4 separate regions of the Homo sapiens genome follow, and all the other regions are linked to region 2. The links are contacts of gene promoters, found by promoter capture Hi-C in blood cells and fetal thymus (Javierre and others, 2016). All regions are on one chromosome and are shown on one strand. The core of a region is centred on a gene start or on the middle of the fragment in contact, and the rest is flanking DNA. Distances in the headings are between cores, read along the strand shown. Region 1 overlaps FNIP1 (folliculin interacting protein 1). Region 2 holds the start of ACSL6 (acyl-CoA synthetase long chain family member 6). Region 3 overlaps RAPGEF6 (Rap guanine nucleotide exchange factor 6). Region 4 overlaps RAPGEF6 (Rap guanine nucleotide exchange factor 6).

What was found. Contacts are between HindIII fragments. The CHiCAGO score rates a contact against its expected background, and 5 or more counts as called.
Region 1: a fragment that was not itself captured here is called in contact with the fragment with the promoter of ACSL6 in region 2 in 7 of 17 cell types (M2 macrophages, M0 macrophages, M1 macrophages and 4 more); the score reaches 7.4 in M2 macrophages.
Region 3: a contact is called between a fragment that was not itself captured here and the fragment with the promoter of ACSL6 in region 2, in 7 of 17 cell types (activated CD4 T cells, total CD4 T cells, non-activated CD4 T cells and 4 more). The highest score is 7.5, in activated CD4 T cells.
Region 4: a contact is called between a fragment that was not itself captured here and the fragment with the promoter of ACSL6 in region 2, in 5 of 17 cell types (naive B cells, naive CD8 T cells, total CD4 T cells and 2 more). The highest score is 6.6, in naive B cells.

The regions. Positions count from the first base shown.
Region 1 is chr5:131,747,872-131,754,045 of GRCh38, forward strand. All of the region lies in intron 1 of FNIP1 (folliculin interacting protein 1), which reads right to left. Among named protein-coding and RNA genes, the nearest start is that of FNIP1, 46 kb to the right of the region's middle. The HindIII fragment of the contact is 2,448 bases long and covers 1,162-3,609 here.
Region 2 is chr5:132,009,009-132,014,917 of GRCh38, forward strand. ACSL6 (acyl-CoA synthetase long chain family member 6) reads right to left here and starts at 2,650. Exons shown (of 21, transcript NM_001009185.3): 1 at 2,497-2,650. The coding sequence starts at 2,545. LOC124901062 (a long non-coding RNA gene) reads left to right here and starts at 2,448. Exons shown (of 2, transcript XR_007058933.1): 1 at 2,448-2,537. The HindIII fragment of the contact is 2,609 bases long and covers 1,527-4,135 here.
Region 3 is chr5:131,497,899-131,503,868 of GRCh38, forward strand. It overlaps RAPGEF6 (Rap guanine nucleotide exchange factor 6), which reads right to left. Exons shown (of 28, transcript NM_016340.6): 12 at 545-709. Among named protein-coding and RNA genes, the nearest start is that of RAPGEF6, 130 kb to the right of the region's middle. The HindIII fragment of the contact is 4,437 bases long and covers 1,144-5,580 here.
Region 4 is chr5:131,517,048-131,522,795 of GRCh38, forward strand. RAPGEF6 (Rap guanine nucleotide exchange factor 6) reads right to left here. Exons shown (of 28, transcript NM_016340.6): 7 at 4,343-4,474. Among named protein-coding and RNA genes, the nearest start is that of RAPGEF6, 120 kb to the right of the region's middle. The HindIII fragment of the contact is 5,323 bases long and covers 1-4,209 here.

The DNA of each region.
Region 1 (6,174 bases), core at 1,136-3,635, 260 kb before region 2:
TGGAGGAGAAATACAAGGCCTCTGAGGAAGTAGAGAACAGGATATAGAGCACAAGTGAAAGCATTAGCTCAAAGAAAATAACTCTCACACTAGGATGGAAAGAAAGGAGATAAAGATGTACATGGGTGCAGAAAGATTTGTAGATATGAAGGTAAGGTGCGGAGGGAATCCATATCTAAGAGATCCATTTTCTTTGTCAAGCAGGTGAAGGCAAGTAAGGGAAAGGTGGTAAGATGTGGGGATAGTAGAGAGTAAAAAAGAGAATAGCAGTTGTTGGGAAATAAAATAGTCATACACCATATAACGTTTTGGTCAACAACAAACTGTATATATGATGGTGGTCTCATAAGATTATAATGCAGTTCAAAAACTCCTATTGCCTAGTAACACTGTAGCTGTCATCACATGGTAGCACAAAGTATTACGCACATGTCTGTGGTGATGCTCATGTAAACAAACCTACTGCACTGTCAGTCATATGAAGGTATTACGGATACAATTATGTAAAATACGCAATACTTGATAATAAAAGACTATGTTGGCCGGGTGCAGTGGCTCACACCTGTAATCCCAGCACTTTGGGAGGCTGAGGTGGGCAGATCACAAGGTCAGGAGATTGAGACCATCCTGACTAACATGGTGAAACCCTGTCTCTACTAAAAGTACAAAACAAAAATTAGCCAGGCGTGGTGGCATGCACCTGTAGTCCCAGCTACTCAGGAGGCTGAGGCAGGAGAATCTCTTGAACCCAGGAAGCAGAGGTTGCAGTGAGCCAAGATTGCGCCACTGCACTCCAGCCTGGGCGACAGAGTGAGACTCTGTCTCAAAAAAAAAAAAGAAAAAAAAAAAAAAAGACTATGTTACTGGTTTATGAATTTACTATACTTTTATCATTATTTTAAAGTGTACCCCTACTTATAAAAAAATTAACTGTAAAACAGCCTTAAGCAGATCCTTCAGGAGGTATTCCAGAAAAAGGCATTATTAGCATAAGAGATGACAGTTCCATGTGTGTTATTACTCCTAAAGACCTTACAGTGGGACAAGATGTGGAGATGGAAGATAGTGGTACTGATAATCCTGACTCTATGTAGGCCTACGTTAATGGTGTGTTTGTGTCTCAGTTTTTAACAAAAAGGTTAAAAAAATTTAACTGAAAAAAGCTTAGAATAAGCACATAAAGAAAGAAAATATGTTTGTACAGCTGTACAATGTTTGTGTCCTAAACAAAGTGTTACTACACAACAGTTCAAAAGATTTTAAAATTAAAAAGTTAATAAGGAAAAAACTTACAATAAGCTAAGGTTAATTTTATTATTGAAGAAAAACATTTTTAATAAATTTAATGTAGCCTAAGTATACAGTGCTTATTTATAAAACCTACAGTAGTGTACAACACTGTCCTAGGTTTTCACAGTCACTGACTACTCACTCACTGACTCACCCAGTAACTTCCAGTCTCGCAAAATCCATTCACAGTAAGTGAATGGATCGCCCTATATAAGTGTACCACTTTTTATCTTTTTTTTTTTTTTTTTTGAGATGCAGTCTCAGTCTATCGTCCAGGCTGAAGTGCAGTGGTGCGATTTTGGCTCACTGCAACCTCCGCTTCCGGGTTCAAGTGATTCTCCTGCCTCAGCCTCCCCAGTTGCTGGGTTTACAGGCGTGTGCCATCATGCCTGGCTAATTTTTATATTTTTAGTAGACATGTGGTTCCACCATGTTGGCCAGGTTTGTCTCAAACTCCTGACCTCAGGTGATCCGCCTGCCTCGGCCTCCCAAAGTGCTGGGATTACAGGTGTGAGCCACTGTGCCCGGCCTACTTTTTATCTTTTATACCATATTTTTGCTGTACCTTTTCTATGTTTGGATATGTTTAGATACACAAATACTTACCATTGTGTTACAACTCCCTACAGTGTTCAGCACAGCAATACGCTGTACAGGTTTGTACCCCAAGAGCAATAGGCTATTATCATACAGCCTAGGTGTGTAGTAGACTATACCATCTAGTGTGTGTAAGTACACTGTGTGATGTTTGCATAACAACAAAATTGCCTAACAATGCATTCCTCAGAACAGAGCCCCATCATTCACTGGTGCATGAGTGTATGTTGAATAGAAAACATAAGATTTCCAGGCAATGCTGTACATCTACATAACGTTGAAGACTATGAACTAGGACGATGTACTGGCTGCAAACTACAGTTAGGTGATTTTCTCCAGTAGGACCTCATGTGCTTGAATTTGGATCAGACTGTGCCAAGGTAAGGGTTTTGATAGGTATACGGAACAAAAGAAAAGGAAGGCTATGGAAATGGAGTATAAGACTGACAAGAATACAGCTGAATTGATCTAAGCTAGTTAGGGAACGTAGTGATGGGACAACAATAACAAAAGAAAATGGAGGCAGTACGGTCAAAGTGCTGAAAAAACGCAAAGAAGGAGAGTGGGAGGCAGAGAGGACAAGGAATAGGAGGCTATAATCACAGGGCAGGATCCTAGAGTTTAAGATATTAGAGGTAGAATAGCTCATTTAATCATTAAATACAGATATGTACCTACTATGTGCCAAGCAGTGGTTAGGGCAAGATAAAAAAGAACCTCTCTGGAAGAAAGATACAACAGTAGCTAAGCAAAGAAATAAATTAACTTGATAACTTCAGGTAAGTCAATAGACTATGATAGAAGGTGGTAGTGAGAGAATGGTTTGGGTTGAGGGGAGGTATATTCTTCCCTTCTTTCTTTTTTTTTTTTTTTAGACAGAGTCTCTCTCTGTCTCTCAGGCTGGGGTGCAGTAGCATGATCTCGGCTCACTGCAACTTCTGCCTCCTGAGCTTGAGAGACTCTTGTGCCCCAGCCTCCCAATTAGCTGAGATTACAGGTATGTGCCACCACGCCCAGCTAGTTTTTGTACTTTTAGTAGAAATAGGGTTTTGCCATGTTGGCCAGGCTGGTCTCAAACTCCTGGCCTCAAGTAATCTGCTGGGATTACAGGTAGCACGAGCTACCACACCTGGCCAATACATTCATTTTTTAAAAGGTGCCTAATATGGACAAAATTTTCTGGAGAAAATGAAAAGTTGGGCTTCACTGGATATGTGGTCTTCTAACAGACCTTATATAAGCAGTGATGCCATTTCATTTAGCCAAACTCCTTTGGTCTCCCAGACACCCAAAGAATAAAATCCAAGTTCCTTTGCTTAGATGTAAAGCTCTTCATGGGCTGGCCCAGATCTGCCTTTCCAGACTCTTTTCATGTTACCCATAATTATCATACTGAGCTTCTCAAAGGTGCCAAGATATATCAATTCCATGCCTTTGTACAAGCCATGTCTTCTACCTGAAATATTCTCACTCTCCTGGCAAACTCTTATTTATTCTTAAAGATCTAGCTCCAAATGTCACCTACTCTAAAAAGTTCTTATTCATTCCTCCAAGCAGAGTTAGCTACTGAGTTTTGGGATTACACTTTACCTTAGATTATAAATCTAATAGTATCTTCATCAGATTGTCTTGTAATTTATCTGTTCACATGCCTGTTTCTTCCACTAGAAAAAAAAAGCTCCCTGAGGGAAGATCTTATTCATCTTTGAATCCCCAGTCCCAAGCTTGGTAAATGAGTAAAACTACATATCCCTAAGTAAATGTAATATCATAGGCACTAAATATTTCAGGAGTGAATGGATTCCACAATCTGAAAAAAAAAAAAAGAAGAAGAAAAAACAAATGTGCTTTCTTTAAAAAGTTAAAAGGCATGTCCATGAACTCATGAATAAACAAAATGTGGTATGTCAATACAATGGAGTATTTGGCCATAAAAAGAATGCATACTACATGGGTGAACCTTGAAAACATTAGGTTAAGGAAAAAAAGCCAAACACAAAAAGGCTACGTATGATGATTCCATTTACATGACTTGTCCAGAATAGGCAAATCCATAATGACTGCAATGTGTACGAGGTTTCTTTCTGGGGAGATGAAATGTTCTGGAATTAGACAGTGGTGATGGTCACCAAAAAACTTTGTAAATATACCACAAACAAAAACAGCAACAACCAAACCAACCTAAAACACTGAATCACGCACTTTAGAAGAGTAGATTTTATGGAATGTGAAGTATATCTCAGCAATAATAAAAAAGGCTTTATTACCAAACTTATTTGTGAGTTTGTATTCTTTTTTTTTGGAGACAAGAGTTTCGCTCTGTTGCACAGGCTGGAGTGCAGTGGCGCGATCTTGGCTCACTGCAAGCTCCGCCTCTCCGGTTCGCGCCATTCTCCTGCCTCAGCCTCCCGAGTAGCTGGGACTACAGGTGCCAGCCACCACGTCCGGCTAATTTTTTGTATTTTTAGTAGAGACAGGGTTTCACCTTGTTAGCCAGGATGGTCTTCATCTCCTGACCTCATGATCTGCCTGCCTCGGCCTCCCAAAGTGCTGGGATTACAGGTGTGAGCCACCGCGCCCAGCCATGAATTTGTATTCTTTGTTAATTTAAAATAGGACTTTATGAAAAAGGTAAAATTATAAAGCTTCTATAAAGAAACACAGGTGATTATGCCACCTTAGGTTAGGCAAAGAGTTCTTAAACAAGATACAAAAATTACTATGCATAAAATAAAAAATTGGTAAGTTGGACTTTATAAAAATTTTAAACCTGAACATCTAAAAAAAAAAAAAAAGACCAGTCCAGAGATTGGAAGACAATATTTGCAATGCACATATCTGATAAAAACTTATAAACAGCCAAAACAACCCCCACAAAGCAGTAAGCAATAAACAATCCAATTTTAAAAGGGTACAGGTACAACTTGGGCATTTCACAAAAGGAGATATATGAATGGATAATCAGTATGTGGAAATGATAATTAACAGTGTTAATCATCAGAGAAATGCAAATTAAAACATGGCCACGGCCGGGCGCGGTGGCTCACGCCTGTAATCCCAGCACTTTGGGAGGCCAAGGCAGGTGGGTCACCTGAGGTCAAGAGTTCAAGACCAGTCTGACCTACATGGGAGAAATCCCAACTCTACTAAAAAAAAATATAAAATTAGCCAGGTGTGGTGGTGCATGCCTGTAATCCCAGCTACTTGGGAGGCTGAGGCAGGAGAATTGCTTGAACTCGGGAGGTGGAGGTTGCAGTGAGCCACGATTGCATCACTGCACTCCAGCCTGGGCAACAAGAGTGAAACATCGTTTCAAAACAAAACAAAAACATACAAACAAACAAAAAAAATGGCCACAAGCATTAAAATGGCTAAAACTGACACGACTAATAACACCAGTGGTTGGTAATAATATGAAGCCCTTGGAACTCCCATACATTGTTAGTAGGAGTGTAAAAGTGTACAACCATTTTTGGAATATTGCTTGACAGCTATGATTCAGCAATTCCTCTCACAGGAAATTTATCCAATAAAAATGAAAATAAATGTTCACAAATACTCTCACAGAAATGTTCACTGCAGTTTTATTTAAACCCAAATGCCACAGAGAATGGATAAACAAACTACGATATATTCCTACATTGAAATACTACTCAGAAATACCAAGGAATGAATTACTGATCCCACGGTAACAAAGATGAACTCAAAAAATACTGTTGCATGAAAGAATCCAGACACAATGGGGCACCTACTGATAATTCTATTTATGTGTAGAAGAGGTAAAACTAATGGACAATGATAGAAATCAAAGCAGTGATCAGGGATAGGGAGTGAGGGAAATGGAGGAGAAATGTATACTAAGGAACTTTCCAGAGTGATCAAAATGTCCTTTATCTTTATTGCCATTGTGGTTAAGTAGATGCATATATTTTTCAAAATAAATTATACATTTTATTATATGCAAATTATAGCTCAATTTTTAAAAGAGAAAGACTACTAAAAAAAGTAATACTATATTCATCAAGTTACATTACATTATGGACATCTCATTAAAACAGATTTTTTTTTTTTTTTGAGACAGAGTCTCGCTCTGTCACCAGGCTGGAGTGCGGTAGCACAATCTCAGCTCACTGAAACCTCCACCTCCCGGGTTCAAGCAATTCTCCTGCCTCAGCCTCCTGAGTAGCTGGGACTACAGGCACATGCCACCATGTCCAACTAATTTTTGTATTTTTAGTAGACACAGGGTTTCACCATGTTGGCCAGGATGTTCTTGATCTCTTGACC
Region 2 (5,909 bases), core at 1,400-3,899:
CTAGCATCTGACTCATGCTGGACTTATTTTACTTGTCTCCTTGTTTAGTATTCAACACACAGGTGAGATCTGGGCTGGCCCAGGACTCATTGCTGGCCTCTCCAGCAGGCAACAGGACAGACACAGCCCAGAACAGATGGCTACCTCCCACAAACAACAGTCAGCTCCTCCTCCTGGTGCATTGCCACACCCCCATCCCCGACTTTATGTCATCTCTCCCTGAGGGCCCTTGAGGGAAACCCTTGCCTGGCCCTACCTTGTCTCCCTAGGGCCAGGTTAGGTGGCAAAAAGCACATAACTCTACTAAAGAGAGACATTGCCTCCTGTTACTGGCTGAGTGGAAGGGATCTGGCAGCTGCCGTGGGACCATGGGACCCTGGAGATGACAAGGCAGAGCATGTTCTCAGGTGTGCTCACAGAACTACAGCTCTTAACTCAGGAGTCTCTTCTGCCACCAGAGAAAGGCTGGGGGCCAGGTGGAGTCTCAAGGAGGGTGGATACATAACTTAAAATGCCCCAGCAATTGTCTGGGTTATTCTATCCAATAAGCACCATAGACCAGCCTCAGCCTCTTGCTTTTTGCATTGGGAAGCTCGGCCTCTGTGGAAGCAGCCACTACCTGCCCCAAGAATCGCTCCTGCTTGACGGTTCTGAGGCCCTGTATAGTCTCTCAGTGAGGCAGATTCCCCAGTTTCCCATTAGAGGAGGGAGCTGACCACTTTAGGAAATGCTCCACAAGGAAACAGGACTCCACTTTGAGTCAGTGCCAGCTAACCCTGCTCACAGACAAGGACCCCACAGGGTGAGGGACTTTTTCTCACAGGCTGCTGATGACCCCGGTCACAAGTGGTCTTGCAGCCCCTAGACACCTCCCTGCAGCCACAGAAGATCAAGTCTTCAGAGAGCTGACCTTGGACCCATGGTTGGGTGGGGCCTCCTGAGGGTAGGGCAAAGGGGTCCTGGCAGTGGGGAGAGGCTCTGAGACCATCCATCACTCAGGCATTAAATGGTGGCTGTTACGACCACCATCACCATTATTTTAATTATCCTTGCCCTTTACCTCCAACCCCAGCTCTAGCCCTGCCCTTGTCTGCTGGATGTGCCTCAGGACCAGAGTGCCCCTGCACAGCCAGTCACAGACACTGGCAGACAGAAGGAGCTTAGGGAGCTGAGGGGATTAGGGAGGCTTCACTCACTCTCCCAGCTCAGGGGAAGTGTCCCTGTGGCCTAACTTAAGGAAATGGTGGGGGTGAAGGAAGTGATTACTAGGCCCACCAACCCTCCAGGTTCAGGCCTGATCCAGCCAAGCACTTAGCATTGGTTGATCAATTAAAACCTCGAATGGAATCCCAGTCTGCCAAATATCCATGTGACACTAGGCAAGTCAATTGACCTCTGAACTCAGTAAAAAAAGGGATGGTGCCACCGACCTCCTAGGGTTTTCCATGAATATTAAATAACACGTACAAAGCCTCAGGTAAAGATTTCAAGAGGGTCAACTTCCTCCCCTTCCTTGGCTCAGAAAAAGCTTTATTACCACTTCTGATGGTGCTGTTTGAATGTGAGATAATAATAAACACTAACATTCATAGAGCATTTGCTGTGGCCTAGGACAGGTTTAAGGCCAATTTAAGGATCAAGCACTGCACACAAATTATCAGGCTGAATCTGCACATGGGGGTTGGGGTGGAGGTGGAGATCCTTTAGTGGTATTATACTCTGGAGGACCCCAGGCTCAGAGAGGGGAAGTAGCCGGTGCAGGTGGTAGAACTGGCAGATAAAAGGGCCTGTGGTGAGACTCCAGGTGTGGGTGTATGGGGGGTTGAGGGAGGTAAGCGCGGAGGCGGGATCGAGCAGGGGTCCTTGTAGCCGCCTAAGAAGTGCAGTGGTGAAGCTGACTCCTGTGAGGTGGAGGGGAGGGGTCTGGAAACAGTGGAGACACAGCAGCCCTGGGCAGAGCAGAGGAGCCAGGTGAACCCTACCTTACAGAAATCTTGTACTCTGGCTGAAGGACGGGCAGGGAGGGGTCGTGAGGAAGCCCCTCGCCGGGATCAGGAAGCCTAGGTCAGTCCGGGTTACATAGCTGACCTGCTGTGGGACCTCGGGGACCAACACCCTCGGTTTCTGGTCCCAGGAGATGGACAAGGACGCAATGTCTGTTCCTGGCCTTGGCTCAGGGCCTAATCTGATCCGCGGATGGTCCTTGCCATCAGGGAAGGGGGACGCAAGAACTCGGCGGGGGTTTGTGGTGGGGTCGCAGAGAGCAAGCCCTATATCTCCCTCCGCAGACCCAGGTGCTCCCCAAACCCGGCCCGGAGCCCGCGAGAACTGGGGGCGGAGGGTGTACTTAGGCGGCCCTGGGGACCTTGACGGGACAGCTCAGCAGCAGGGGATGGGGGCTCGGCGGCCGCGGAGATGTAACACCTCCACCTCGGGCGAAGACCTCATAGCCTGCGGGAGATGGGAGTCCGGGACGCGGACAGGACGGGCACTTACCTACGAATAGCCAGAGGGAGCCCCCCGACACGAGGAAGAAGGTCAGCATGGCGGTCAGCGGGGCCCGGCCCGGCCCGGCCCGGCCTCCCCGACCCGCAGCCCCGCAGCCCCGCAGCCCAGCAGCCCCAGCAGTAGCCGCGCCGCCGCCGCCGCTGCCGGGTATTTTTAGCCCCCGCCCTCCGGCCCCGCAGCTCCCGCCTCCCCGCGCCGCTGCGGAGACGGCTCAAGGGGGAGGGCGCGGCGCGCACTCGCAACCGAGCCTTACTCCCTGCCCTGCAGCCTGGCCGGCCGGGTCTGGGGCTTGCCCCGCACTGACCGCGGTGTCGGAACCGCCAAGCTCCCGGGCGGGGGAGGGGCCCGGCCGCAGAGCGAACCAGCCCTCTCCGGCCCCGCTCTCCAACGTCAGTACCTGGCATTCTGCGGAAACCGGCTGGAAGGGGGAGCACGGGCGACGAGCGCCAGAGCGTGACATTGAGCCCACCCCGCCGCCACCCACCCCATCAACACGCGACCCTGCCCCCGCGCGACTCGCAGCCTGGGTTTTATGGCTGGGCAGGCTCGAATGGCAGCCGGGTCGCGGTTACCTGTCCTAGGAGGTGCACACTCCTGTGGGCTGTTGCCCGCTGACACCAACGCCCCCTAGGACCCGAGTTTGCAGACATGGGGAGCCTCCGGGTGCCACCTCTGCAAACCAGTGAGGGGAGGGAGTGGCAAGTGTTCACCTAGGCTCTGACAAATCAGGCAGCTAGACCAGATAGTGCCCAGATCATCTGGGGACGCACGAGTTCAGGTCTGAGGCTACGCAAGGTCACAGGAGACTCAGTGTGATCACAGGCTGCCATATGTGTTCACCAGTAGTAACATGGTCACAGGCAGCCACATGGAATCACAGGTGTCTCATGAGGAAATCATGATCTTCGTACACAACTGTATGTGGCACACGAGGTCTCAAGAAGCCCCTCATAGCCACAATAAATGGCCATATAGCCACACACAGCCACAGATGCCCACACTGCTGGGCTGAGGGCTTGGACACCTGTTGCAGTGTCTGCCATTGAAAGGAGGAAGCCCAGTTGCACATTTTCTGAAATAATAAGGGTAGGCATCCTGGTGGGCACCCCATGAACATCTGCACCTCCAAGCAAGATCACCTCTTCCCAATGCCCTTGCTTGTTTTCCTCAAGCATGCAGAGCCCACCAGGACTCCAGCACCGAGGACAGCGCTCAGGCAGCCGGGCCTTCTCTATACGCAGCCCTCCCAGGCCAGGAGCTGGCTGAGCCACAGCCCAGAAAGAAGAGGATAGAAAACCAGAGAGCAGAAGTCAGGAAGCAGAGAGTGGAAGAGCATGAGATCTCTTCAGGCCCACCAGAGACCATCAGCCATGAGTGCATGTGGGCTCACAGCTCAGCAGCTGGGTGTGTGGGGGGGCCTGTATCTGTAGTACGAGTACATGGCATGTGTGTGCCCAGGCCTGTGTGCACCTTGTAGTGGTGCAAGTGTGCAGATGTGTGCCTCTGAGTCACTTCCAATCTTTACAATAGGATCCTACACCTTCTCCATCATAGGATCTGGACTCCTGGGAGAGCTGCTCCAGCTTGAACTCAGCCACAGCCTGGCAGGGACTTTGCTGGGATCTCAAGCTTGGCAGGGCTCCTCCAAGAGGGTGTGACAGAGGCTGTATGGCAGGACTCCTCCCAGCAAGTAACATGGCTTTGAGAATCCCCCCACCCCACCCATACACTCCCACTGGCAGCAGAGTAACTGGAGATCTGCTAGTACTGAAGAGGAGACCCAGGGGAACCAGAAGCCTGGGCAGAAAGAACATATCTCCCCAGACCAGATTGGTCTAGGGAGGTGGTCAGGTAATTTCCCCATAGGCCAGTGGTTCAACAGAGCATTTCTTCACAGAGCAGGGGGCCAGGAGCCAGGCTGCAAGCCTCAGGCCTCTGCGGCACTCAGCTGCAGGAGCACTCCGGGCCCTATGCGGCTCTGGCAGCCTCCTCTTCAGAGTGATGTCATGGGACACATTTAGCTTGGCCTCCAGCAGGATGTCGCATCCCGTTACTCTCCCTACAGATGTCTCTGCTACTTGTGAATATTTTAATTCAAAAACCAGTACTGGAGCTGTGACTGATTCTAGCTTAGCCAAGTATTTTTCTGTTTTCCTCTGAGCATGGCTTGGCTTCCCCTGAGAGATGGGGACAGAAAGGCCCTAGCCTGGTTGTGGGATCATGGCCAGGTCTCTCTCCTCTCTAGGCCTGTTCCTTCCACTGAGTAATGGGACTTGTTCTTTCCTGTCCTGAGTTCCCAAGGTCTTCTTCCTTCTCTGTGAGTCTCAATCTGTGGACCATCTGCAGGCATGGGTAGACGCTGTGACTCAGGCCCTAGACTGCATGGGTGTGGCATCCATGGAACCCAGGGCCCAGAAATGCCCAGGCCAGGCTGGGGAGCCCTTGGATATCCCTCTTGGTCCTTAGCCAGCAAATCCAGCCACCTTAGCGGCCAGCCATGTTCACACATATCTCCTCCCAGACTAGCATCTCTAAGTGGGTTGGCAGGCAGGAGCCTAATCATCTATTTGCAGCCCTGGCTTGGGGTCTGGCCCAAAGAATGCAGAGGATATTATCCCATTTGACAGAGCAGAAGACTGACGTTGGGAAAGGCGAACAACTGTCTTAGGTCACACAGCAGTTCTGGGCTCCTGACTCCCATTTATTCATTTTTCATTCATTCTCTCCTACATTTTGATAGTTTCCCAAGTTGCAAGTGTCTCCGGTAGAATCCAGAAAACTCACTTTTCCAGCTTCCTTTGCAGCTAGGAGTGGATTAGTGACTTAGACTGTACCAATGAAACACACTCTCATGAGCCTTCGATAAAAAAGCCAGAAATGAGTGAAAGAAAGTCATGCACATGGCATCTACGTTGCTGGCACAAGGGTGGTAACAGAAGCCATGGATGGTGGATGATTCTGGGAGTCATTTCAGAAACTGAAATTTGAGCCTGTTTCTTGAAGTGCCCCAAAAGTTGAGCCTTTTAGAAGTGAACATGTTCTTTAATGTACTCTTTTTCTGATTAAAACAGTCAGTCCAGACTTTGTTTAGTCAGTTTGGAGCCAAGAACTCAAACTGATCCACTCACCATCCCACTGCTGAAGGTCTTTCCTGCCCTCCAGAGGGTGTGGATATGGGGCTGGCACACAGCATGATGCATCCTCTGTCCCCATTACTGCATCTCCTAGTGGAAGCTCTGACTGATGGGGCTGGGTGGGCTGAGCCAGGTCTTTGCTTCTCTGTATTCTGACAACCACATATTTGGAGACCTGAACCAAAAACTTGAAACTCAACAAAGAATCCACTAAGGATAACTACCCAATCTGGAGCAAAGGCTTTTAACACATGATATAATGGTTGG
Region 3 (5,970 bases), core at 2,112-4,611, 510 kb before region 2:
TTAAAATAGTGAACAACATTTAATACAAAAAAATACTCAAAAGGTAGATTTAAATAAGTCACAGGAGAGACATATTAAGGTTTGATAAATTGTTTTCAAATGATTGTGAAGTCTGTAACTCAAGAAAATAAAAATATTCCCATTTTGAAGCTTAAAAGCAATCTGCCCTCTTAAAAAAATGTATTTGATGAATATTCTTTCTAAAATATTAAATCCGTTTTAAAATGTTTTATTGATCTCCAGAAACAATCAAGTATTTCAGTAAAATTCTAAAATACTCTCATGTAACTATTATGTTTCCTGAACCTATAGCTATACCAGAGCTTTATTTCAGTTTTTGCCTTTTAAGGCTCTCGTCCACTTTTAGCATGCTATTCTGTCATAAAAGTAAGCAGAGAATGTTTATACTGATGGTTCAGGTTCATTAATTTTTTTAGGTGTACTGAATCTTATTATCATAATAAACAGGTAATCTATCAACTATAAAAGTTTCATGAATAAAATTTTGGGTTAAAATCACTTTCATGCCCCTTATAAAACCAACCTTATCTCTTAAGCTGTCGATCTTAAACCATTCCAATAGTTTGATCCCAACATCCAAAGGACTTTCAAGAAATGTCCTGTAAGTTAATAGAAAATCTTCTATATAAGTTGGATCCACGATGGAATGTTCTTCTATTAAATGCATTATGAGACGCTCAGGTGTTGCCTAAAAATCCAAGGATAGGAAGGATTAGAAAATAAACAAATGACCCAAGAACCAAAGAACTATTGTTGATTACTCCGCTTTGTAGCTACTCCATTAGACAAATCGTCAAAGTACAGTTTCGCCTTTAAATCCTTAGCGCTGGGAGAATTGGAATGCAAACTTAATTGTAATCCACCAGCACCCAGAGGTTGAGAGACAGAAAAGGCAGAGAAATAAATAGCCAACAGCACTCACTCAGCTGAAGCTGTTTTCACTGGCATTTCATCATAGCAGGACCTTTGAACTTCACTAACTTAGCCCTGGTGTGGGCTGTTACTGCCACTTCTCCTACAACCAGGGCATGTATTTATTGTCTCAAGGCAACAAAAGAGGTGAAAGTTAAACTAAAGAAAGAAAGAAAAAGAAAGGAATGAAAGGGAAGAAAGAAAAAAGAAAGCTTTTCTCCAAATTTAATCCACCTCAAAAATCTTTTCTGACCAGGCTGTAGGAAGAACACACCAGTTCAAGAGAGCCTGTTTCATTATTGTTACTTCCCAGAATAAATATTTCCTTTTCTACAGTTCCTCTCATACAGTTTCCTCTCCATGCTAGGTCACCATATTGAGAGGAACCAGAAGTTCTACAGACAGTTTTGAAATTAATTCAGAGTTTTAAATGCTTGTTTCCAACTTTATAAAAGAATATAAACAGGCTGGGCGTGGTGTGGCTCATGCCTGTAATCCCAGCACTTTGGGAGGCCAAGGAGAGCAGAACACCTGAGGTCCACAGTTCAAGACCAGCCTGGCCAACATGGTGAAACCCCGTCTCTACTAAAAATACAAAAATTGGCTGGGTGTGGTGGCCGGCGCCTATAATCCCAGCTACTCAGGAGGGTGAGGCAGCAGAATTGCTTGAACCCGGGAGGTGGAGGTTGCAGAGAGCGGAGATCATGCCACTGCACTCCAGCTGGGGCGACAAGAGCGAGACTTTGTCTCAAAAAAAAAAAAAAAAAAAAAAGAATATAAACAAAAATTTCCATACTGCTCTTCTTTGAGCTTCTGAACCAATGTTTATTACCCTTTGTAGCTTTTTCAAAGGTTGGTACAAGAACAAATACAGAAACAAACAAGATGTTAAGCCTGATATAAAAACTGTTATCCATAACACCCAACCTTCAATTTGTTGCAGTCATCCAAACAATTTCATTGTTTAGAATAACTGTGTGGTAAACATACATTAATACTAACAATGTTCTTTATCTAAGAATCTATTAAAAATAAAAAGGTACTTTATTTATTAAAAGGTACTTTATTTTTATTTATTTATTTTTGAGACGGAGTCTGGCTCTGTCGCCCAGGCTGGAGTGCCGCTGCGCGATCTCAGCTCACTGCAACTTCCGCCTCCTGGGTTCAAGCAATTCTCCTGCCTCAGCCTCCTGAGTAGCTGCAATTACAGGCATGCACCACTATGCCCAGCTAATTTTTGTATTTTTAGTAGAGACGGGGTTTCACCATGTTGGTCAGGCTGGTCTCGAACTCTTGACCTCGTGATCCATCCTCCATGGCCTCCCAAAGTACTGGGATTACAGGCGTGAGCCACTGTGCCTGGCCCTATTTTATTAATTAAAAATAAGGTACGAAAATCGTTTCTCTAGAAGGAACTCAGAAACAACCTCCTTAAGAGATAAGAAAATCATAGGTCATTCCTATTCTCCTATCCTCCAAAACATTCTAAGCCTAAGAGTACCAAATTGTTTTATTACTCAGGCCAATCCTGGTTTAGGGTCATTTAGGTTCACTTAATTCCATTTCCTAGAATAGCTGAGTGAGGGATGGGAACTGTTCAACATGTTAGGCCATTATTCTGACTGGCAAAATCACAGAGGCAGGGTCCCTATAGAGACTAGGTCATGCATTCTAAATTTTATTTAAAGATGAGCCCTTACCTCTTTAGACTAAAATCTATCTTACCTCAAAATGCCCTTGATCCCAGCCACACAAATTTCCTGCTTTTTCTTAAATATATTATGCAATTTTATATAGCACATGCATATGTCTCTGTCTGGCCACCCTTCCTCCCTATATCTTCTTGCTATTTCTTCTAGCCTAATTTAGATCCCTCTTTTTATGTCTCTCTTGCTCTTCCATCTTAAGATTTATCAAGTCATGCTGAAACTATCGCCTTGTCTTTCTCAAAAGACTGTGAGTTCACTGATAGCAGAATCTAAGTATATATTAGTATCTCCCAGATCTCACACAGGGCCTGGCATAGAGTACCATAAAGTCAGTGTTGTTGAATAAATGAAGAAATGAACTGAATGAAGAAATGAATGAAATGAAAAGTAGTAACTGCTTTCTGTGTGATTATGTGTAAACAGAAAGTCAAGGCCAGGTGCGGTGGCTCACACCTGTAATCCCAGCACTTCTGGAGCCCACCTTGGCCTCCCAAAGTGCTGGGATTACATGTCTGAGGCACCATGCTTGGCCTTGACCTGAGGATCACTTGAGGTCAGGAGTTAGAGATCAGCCCGGCCAAATGGCCAAAATGGCAAAACCCCACCTCTACTAAAAATACAAAAACAAACAAACAAACAAACAAAAAAAGCTGTGAGTGATGGCATGCACCTGTAGTCACAGCTACCTAGGAGGCTGAGGCACAAGAGTTGCCTGAACCCAGGAGGCAGAGGTTGCAGTGAGCCAAGATCGTGCCACTGCACTCCAGCCTGGGTGACAGAGTGAGACTTTGTCTCCAAAAAAAAAAAAAAAATCAAATGATCAATCCTTCTATGAGCAAAAGATGGTTATGATTTGCAATTAAATCTCAATGTGAAGATTGTAGTACAGTAAAAATAACATATTTTCAATATTTATGTCACAAAAGCAACCCATCAGCATGCAATCAGAATCTGGAAACATTTTAAGGTGTGTATAAACTCACGGCAAATTTATGTTCAAGTATTTTTGATGTTCTGAACTTTCACTTAAAAAAATCAACACAGTGTTTAAAATCTATTGTAAAATATATTAGAAGGTGGGATGCTGGGAGACAGGGTGCACAGAGGTAGCAAGCAGAAGAGATGGCTGGTGTTGTTATACTGGCATGGTAGAAACTGCTTACAATGAGCAAATAATATACAGAGTATAACAAGAGGCATTGTTGGAGAAGGTATTTACAAATATAGAAGGGAATAGACTAGGGAAAACTGTGGTGCTGGTACTGGAACTGGAGGTACAGGTAGTAGTGGAATTGTAACTCATGGTTGTTTAATATATATATAAAGTTATAGATGTGTATGTGTTTATAACAAATACATACATATATTTCCTAGCTCTGATGAAAGACTCTAAAAGCAATGACACTTCAGTAACAATGAATAAAGATTCAGGGTCTTCTTGAGAAATGGCTAATTCCAGAGCTGGTACAGTTAAGTTCACGATGAGCCTTATTATTTGCCAGATTATACGGATGTGCTCAAATGATGGGGATATGTCAAAAAATACAGGTGTCAGTTTAAGAGTCCCACTACCTAAAACCTGGGACAATTTGAGGATCAGAATAAGAATGATGGTAACATAAGTTTATACCAATATAAATAAATTAATGAAGACAAGACAGTTCATTCCTTCAATACAATGAGTTAATAAATGCATGAGAAATTATTTTTAAAATCACCATTTCAGACAAGAATAGTAATGGAAGTAAAAAGTGCCGAATAGAAGTTTGTATTCAGTGCATACTATACATAAACTAAAAGTCTGAGGATAGTATTTTGATACTGTCAGAACATCTCTCCACCAAATATTTATCAGTTACAAAGGGTAAAATGATGACTTTACACTGAAGAAACTGGGCAGACAGACACCAACATGATCAGTAATCATGGCTAACTTCACCATTGGTAGGACAACAGGTTGACATTGTGTGCCCTCTGAGTTTTGTGAACTCCTGCCAGGAAAGCATGACTTGAATCTATCTGGTCATGAGGAAATACTGGAAAGATCCAGGTGGAGGGTAATACTACAGGATGTATGATCTGTATTCTTTAAAACTGCTAAGGATATTAACAACAGTGAAGGACTGAGGAACTGGTACAGACTGAAGTGACATGACAACTAAATGCAACTGTGTTCTTGGACAACACTCTAGACCAGAAGTAAGTTATTATTGGGATAGCTGGTGAAAATCTAAATAGGGTTTCTGGACTGAATCTGTTTTTGTTTGTTTGTTTTTGAGACGGAGTCTCACTCTGTCGCCCAGGCTGGAGTGCAATGGTGTGATCTCGGCTCACTGCAACCTCCGCCTCCTGGGTCCAGGCAATTCTCCTGCTTCAGCCTCCCGAGTAGCTGGGATTGATTACAGGCGGCCACCACCATGCCTAGCTAATTTTTGTATTTTTAGTAGAAATAGGGTTTCACCATGTTGGCCAGGCTGGTCTCGAACTCCTGACCTCAAATGATCTGTCTACCTTGGCCTCCCAAAGTGCTGGGATTACAGGCATGAGCCACCATGCCCGGCCCTGAATGGTTTTATTTTAGCAATGTTCACTTCCTAACTTGAAGGATTCTATGGTGTTTATGTCAGAGAGTGTCCTTGTTTTTAGGAAATACACAATAAGATATTTAGGAGTGATGAGGCATCACATTTGCAGACTGCTCTCAAATCGTTCAGAAAAAAGACTAATAGAGCAAATGCAGTGAAAATATTAACAGTTGAGGAATCAGTGACAGATCTCTCTACTGTTCTTGCAACTTTTCTATAAAGTTTGAAATTATTTAGAAATAAATTACTAAAACACATGAGTCCTCACAAAAAGATAAAAATGAATTAAAATGAAAAAGTATATGTGTAAGCCTATGGCATTCCACCAGTATGTTAATCATTTCTACACACAAAGCTTACACTCATCTGTTTAGGAAAAGAAAGATCTCTGAGGAATAGCCTGACTCTAAGGGAAGAAGAAGTATGACATCAGACTTCAAATTATCTCTCTGATTTAACTCCCTCATATTATTAAGTAAACTGCTTCATCTGCAATTAATAGTGGCAATAATTTCGCCAAGACTAGCTTGAAAAGAGAAACAGTTATGTGTTTATTTCCCCTCTTTCAACTATAATTGTTCAGTTTATATCCAAGTCTTTAAAGAGAAAAGGAGGTGAGAAGGCAAGTATTAGGAGAGGGCAGAACTTACAGAAGGGAAAACAGTATGGGGGTTAATACTCAGACTCTACAATTGTGCTAAGGCTTTTGATTTACCTCATTTAGCCCTAATAAAGTCTTGAAT
Region 4 (5,748 bases), core at 298-2,797, 490 kb before region 2:
TATAAGTGGGCGCTAACAATTGGGTACACATGGACCTAAAGATAGGAACACCAGACACTGGGGTCTATTAGGGCAGGGAGAGAGGGGCAAGGGCTGAAAAACCACCGAATGGGTATTATGCTCACTATCTGGGTGATGGGATCATTCGAACCCCAAACACTCAGCACCACGCAATATACTATGTAAGAAATCTGCACATGTACCCCCCTGCATCTAAAATAAAAGTTGAAATTATTTTTAAAAATTGGGGAGACATCCATTTTTCTGGATAAGAAGACTCCACGTTAGAAAAAAATGCCCAAATTAATCTATATATAGTCTTCTGCCCCACAAAAAAAGCTGGATTTCACTTGAAACGTTTCTAAATTTCTAGAAGAATAAAAGCAGAAACACTAAAAAAAAATTGCTGTTAGGATATCTTCCCCTCAACTGTCCAAATTAAAAATACTTCTATCATTTCACAAGGCTTTTCTTATGGTGTTAAAGGCTAGGTGTTCACTTAAAAAATCTCTCAAATGCTAAAATTCAAATAACTAGACAAATCACTTCAGCTATCCCAGGCTAAGATACATACATTGGCAATGTACACCTGTAACTAAGGGGTATATTCATAGCTCCAAAAGGGAATCTAAAGGCAGCCTAAGGTGAAAGGAAAGATCAAGGGTCCAGTACTGATATTTAATTCTTCTCCTTGTTTATTCCCGAGGATCTGATTGGAAACATTCGCGCATGTACACACACACACACACACACACACACACACACACACACACACAAAATTTAGTTAGACATTTCTCTTACCCATGGATTAAAATTATAGAAATCTTGTACTTTGGAGGGTATATCTTATCAATCTATTATAATTCTGTGTTTATTCCTTTTACTCTCCTTTAAATATTTTCCAATTTTTTTTTCAACTTTTAACTATACAATCTATTTACGTCCTCCTTAATATTTGTTAAATAAATAAAAATGTTCGTTTAAGAAACATAATAAAAACTACCCACAAACCCACCACTAGTAGAAAAACACTGTTACTAACTGGTGTTCTTGAACTCGGATTTACATTCTGTATCTACAAGTATAACATATTTAAGTATACAGGTATATATATTTATTTAACGAAATATAAATAAAATGTTAAAAATACCTACTTATCTCATAGATATGATATATAAGATTTTATACATATGAGATATAAAAAATATATAAGTATGTAGGTGTATATTTTTATGATTTTGATTTTTTTCCTTTTGTGTTTATCTTTATTGGCTTCTTTTTATTTTGGCGTTTATGCTGTTTCTATCTTTTGGCTATGGTCCTAAAGTTAACTGTTATGTCAGAGTTTGAAATTTTTTTTTTTTTTGGAGACGGAGTTTCACTCTTGTTGCCCAGGCTGGAGTGCAATGGCGTGATCTTGGGTCACCGCAACCTCCGCCTCCTGGGTTCAAGTGATTCTCCTGCCTCAGCCTCCTGAGTAGCTGGGATTACAGGCATGCTCCATCACCCCAGCTAATTTTTTATTTTTAGTAGAGAGAGGGTTTCTCCATGTTGATCAGGCTGGTCTTGAACTCCCGACCTCAGGTGATCCGCCCACCTCTGCCTCCCAAAGTGCTGGGACTGCAGGCTTGAGCCACTGTGCCCAGCAGCAGAGTTTGAAAATTTTTATCTTCTTTGACTACTCTTAAAAAATTTTATCTTAGGTTTTATATATTTGATGTTAACATTATTATAAGTTTCTTCTTTAAATTTCTTCATTCCTATTTTGGTTCTAGAGTTTTATCTTATTTATTTTATCTTTATTCCTTTTATCTTTTCATGCTCTCTAAATTCATTCCCACTTTTATTGGTTAATTTATAAGTTTCATTGCATCATATTTTTTTAAACTATATGATTCCATTTATATGACCTTCTGGAAAAGGCAAAACTATAAGGTCAGAAAAGAGATTGGTGGTTGCCAGGGCATAGGATAGGGGTCAGGAGAAGGTACTTGACTGCAAAGGGTCATATGGATACTTTCTGAGGTGATGGAAATATTCTACATATTGATATAGGCTATGCCATGGTCCTGCAATAGAACACCTCCAACCAACACCAGCAGGTGTACTCCAGTCTCATCCTCAGGTTGTCCAGCTAAAAGGGGAGTAATCTGCAGGTGCTAATATAAGTGCAATGCTCCTATAGGAGCTCCTGTAGTATCTTTGCAAAGATGTAGGGACCAACTGTGTACAGTCCATCTTCTAGTTCACAATAAAGCATTGGTCTTTCCAAGTGACCTTGAATCTTAATCTGTGCACTATCCTGGCTTAGAGATGTGGATATCCCAGTGATACCAGGTTCTTATAGTTTTTCTTGTCTTTTCTTCTTTTTTGAGACAGAGTCTTGCTCTGTCGGCCAGGCTGGAGTGCAGTGGCATGCTCTTGGCTTGCTGCAACCTCCGCCTCCTGGGCTCAAGCAATTCTCCTTACTCAGCCTCCCAAGTAGCTGAGATTACAGATGTGTGCCACCACGCCCAGCTAATTTTTGAATTTTTCGTAGAGACAGGGTTTCACCATGTTGGTCATGCTGGTCTTGAACTCCTAACCTCAGGTAATCCGCCCGCCTAGGCCTCCCATCCTATAGTTTTTCAACACTAAACCTCTGTGTATAGTCTTAGAAAAGTCCAGATATTCTCACATGTCCTGAGAGAAATCTACAGCCACATCCCTGAATTTCACTGATCCAGGGTCAATCTTCCTCAGTGTTTTCTTCTGGAAAAACACAGTCTACTTTGATTTTTAGGTGTGCAACAATTCTTCTTTCACAAGATAATTCTTTTGGGGAGGGGCAGAAAGCATGAAGCCCAATAGGTACACAAGTACTAAGTGGTGCCAGAGCTATTGTATTAACTTGTTTCATCTCTCTTTTAATTCTTTGTTCTCTCTACTATAAAATGGAGAACAGGGAAAAATTCCTTGTTCTGTATACTGTAAAAAGCAAACAGGGAGATATAGATGACCACAGCAATTACCTTTGTTGAGAAAAGCCACATATAAACCAAAAAATGGGTATTGTCTTTGTTCCATTTTGCATCTGCCTACAAACTTCCCTGAATAGAAGAAGGCTATTTTCCTAAAATATCTCAATCTGGGTAACTTTGTAGAACCAGTCTAAAATGCTTTCCTCAGACAATGATACTATTTCTACAATTCTTAGTATATGGTAGCCACTAGCCGTATGTGGTTATTAGGCACTTAAAACATGGCTAGTCCAAATTGAGATGTGCTGTAACTTTAAATTAAACTCTGTTTTTTGATGACTTAATATGCAAAAGTAATGTAAGGTAACTCATGCATAATGTTAAAACATTAAATACATGTTGTAATTATAGTATTTGGTTATACTGCACTAAATAAAATATATTACTAAAATGAATTTTACCTGTTTCCTTTTATATTTTTTAATGTGGCTACTAGAAAATTTAAAATTAAATACGTGGCTCACATTAAATTTCTATTTGACAGTTCTGAAATAGGTAATATATTTGAATTCCTTAACAAACCAACCCTCAATATCATGCATCCTCTTGTTATTTTATTTAAACTGTTTTATGTTCTATACTCATGATCTCTGACAAAATCAACCACTGGGCTCCACACCCAGGGAACTGCTCCTTACAACTTGCATTAAAGAAGACATCATAGAAGTTCCACTATCTGGATCCTGAAATACTTATTACCCTGGCTTGAACCTAACTTGGGTTCAATCTCAGCAGGATCATGTGAGGATTCTCTCAGTTTATGGGTCTTCCTAGAACCTTCTCCCCAATATTACAATGATCACTGAAAAGCTCAGTAGGTTTGAAATTGTTCCTCTTGGGTTTTAGAAAATGGAAAAGTCCATCAATATTCTCACTAATTTGCTATTTAATTCACGCTAGACTACAACAGAGGCTTTATGGTAGAAAAGCAGCTCTAATTTTCTTCATGACTTCTAACTACAGAAGACATATACAGTCAATTATAACAAAAATCAGCCTTTTTATAAGTTTAAGTTCAGTTATTCCAAGAACTAATTTTTTAACCAAAACAAGCATTAGATATTAATATGGATTCACCTGGATAAATGAAAGAGAACACTAGATTCATACTCTGCTGAACCATACTTAATCATTCTCAAAAGACAGATCACGTCTTTAATCATGCTTACAAATTTGACACAGTATATAAAGCTTATTTTTCTAAAGACCTTACGCTTGAATTTCATACTCTAAAAGATATGTTAACCATCTAAGGCACAATCACAGAATATCTGGCAAATAAAAAAACCATATACGCAGCATACAAATTCCTAAGGTATTACCTGATAGATATCAGATAAACTGCTGCTTCCAGAGTCACTGGCAATGCTACAACCAGACTGACTAGAAGACACATGAGTCACCTGTGGATGAGGGTTTTCTGTGAGATGCATCTTGGTAAGATCAGCTGGAAGCTGAAAAAAAAAATAATTTAAGTTATTCTAAATGTCAAGCTTTACCTTTTTAAGCGGTTTCGACATGTTCAACAAATTTTTATGTACATTACTGTGCAATCTCTTTTTTAACCCAAGTTCTCTACTTTCAGCAAAAAGATCTTTTGAAATAAGAACCATATGGTACTCTCTGAAACTATTAGACAATCCTACAATGGTAAGCTCACTGAACAGTTTTCAAAAGCCATTACTAATGATATTTCAGAGGAAAAACTTGGCCCTTCTATCCTCCCAAATAAAAATATCAGACCTGTCCATTTAAGGGTAGGAATGTTACCCTACACACACACACACACACACACACACACACACACACACACACACACACACACTCTCTCTCTCTCTCACACACACACTCACTCTCCCTCCCTCCCTCCTAATAAAAAATGGTGACTGATACAAGAATAAAACAGCAATATCTTGGAATCAAGTTCAGCTACTGGCAGCAAGACTTAAGACCAGTAACAAGTTGATTACATTAAATATTCCAAAAATTCTGTGAGCATCTTTACACTTAATATTGAATTAGCTTCTAGTTGGCCCCTGAGAGATTTCTTAGTAATCAACATGATTTAATGAATGTCTGTACTAGGCACAGGTATACAAGAAACACAAAAAGTAAATGACTCCACCACCTCATCTTTAATATGGTCGCATTCTTACCAGGTATGCAGGCTGTACAATATATTTCATGCCGTAAAAGAGACATCTCACAAAATACAAGCTACAGAAATTAAGACAATAAACAAACCACTGCATTCCAGAGTAGTAAAAGTTTTGCATAAGAAGTATGCTAATTTATTTTCCAAATGATTTCTCTGCAACTTGCTATTCAGGGCTATCAAAATCAATTTAATTTTTAAAATAGGGTTCCTCATTGCTTTACTAATGAAAAACATTAAAGAAACACACACATAGTGTATATTAAATGTATTCTGAGGGAATGACTGAGTCTGAATTATGTTATCTCAAGAGGAGTTAATGTAATTATAAAAATTACACATAAAGTACATCACGAACTTCCCCTGCTGATAATGGTATGTTAGATAATTCAGACGAATCCTAGTACTAAGACAAACAGAAAACCTGAAGTACATACATACATACACACACACACAGTATCTGGCCTCTGACGTTACTTTTTCTCCTAAGAATATTTTCTGATTCCTAAAGAAAAGGCTAAAAGGCCAAGAAGTACCTGTGACAGCCACTGGCTAAAGGGACAAAAGTTAAAT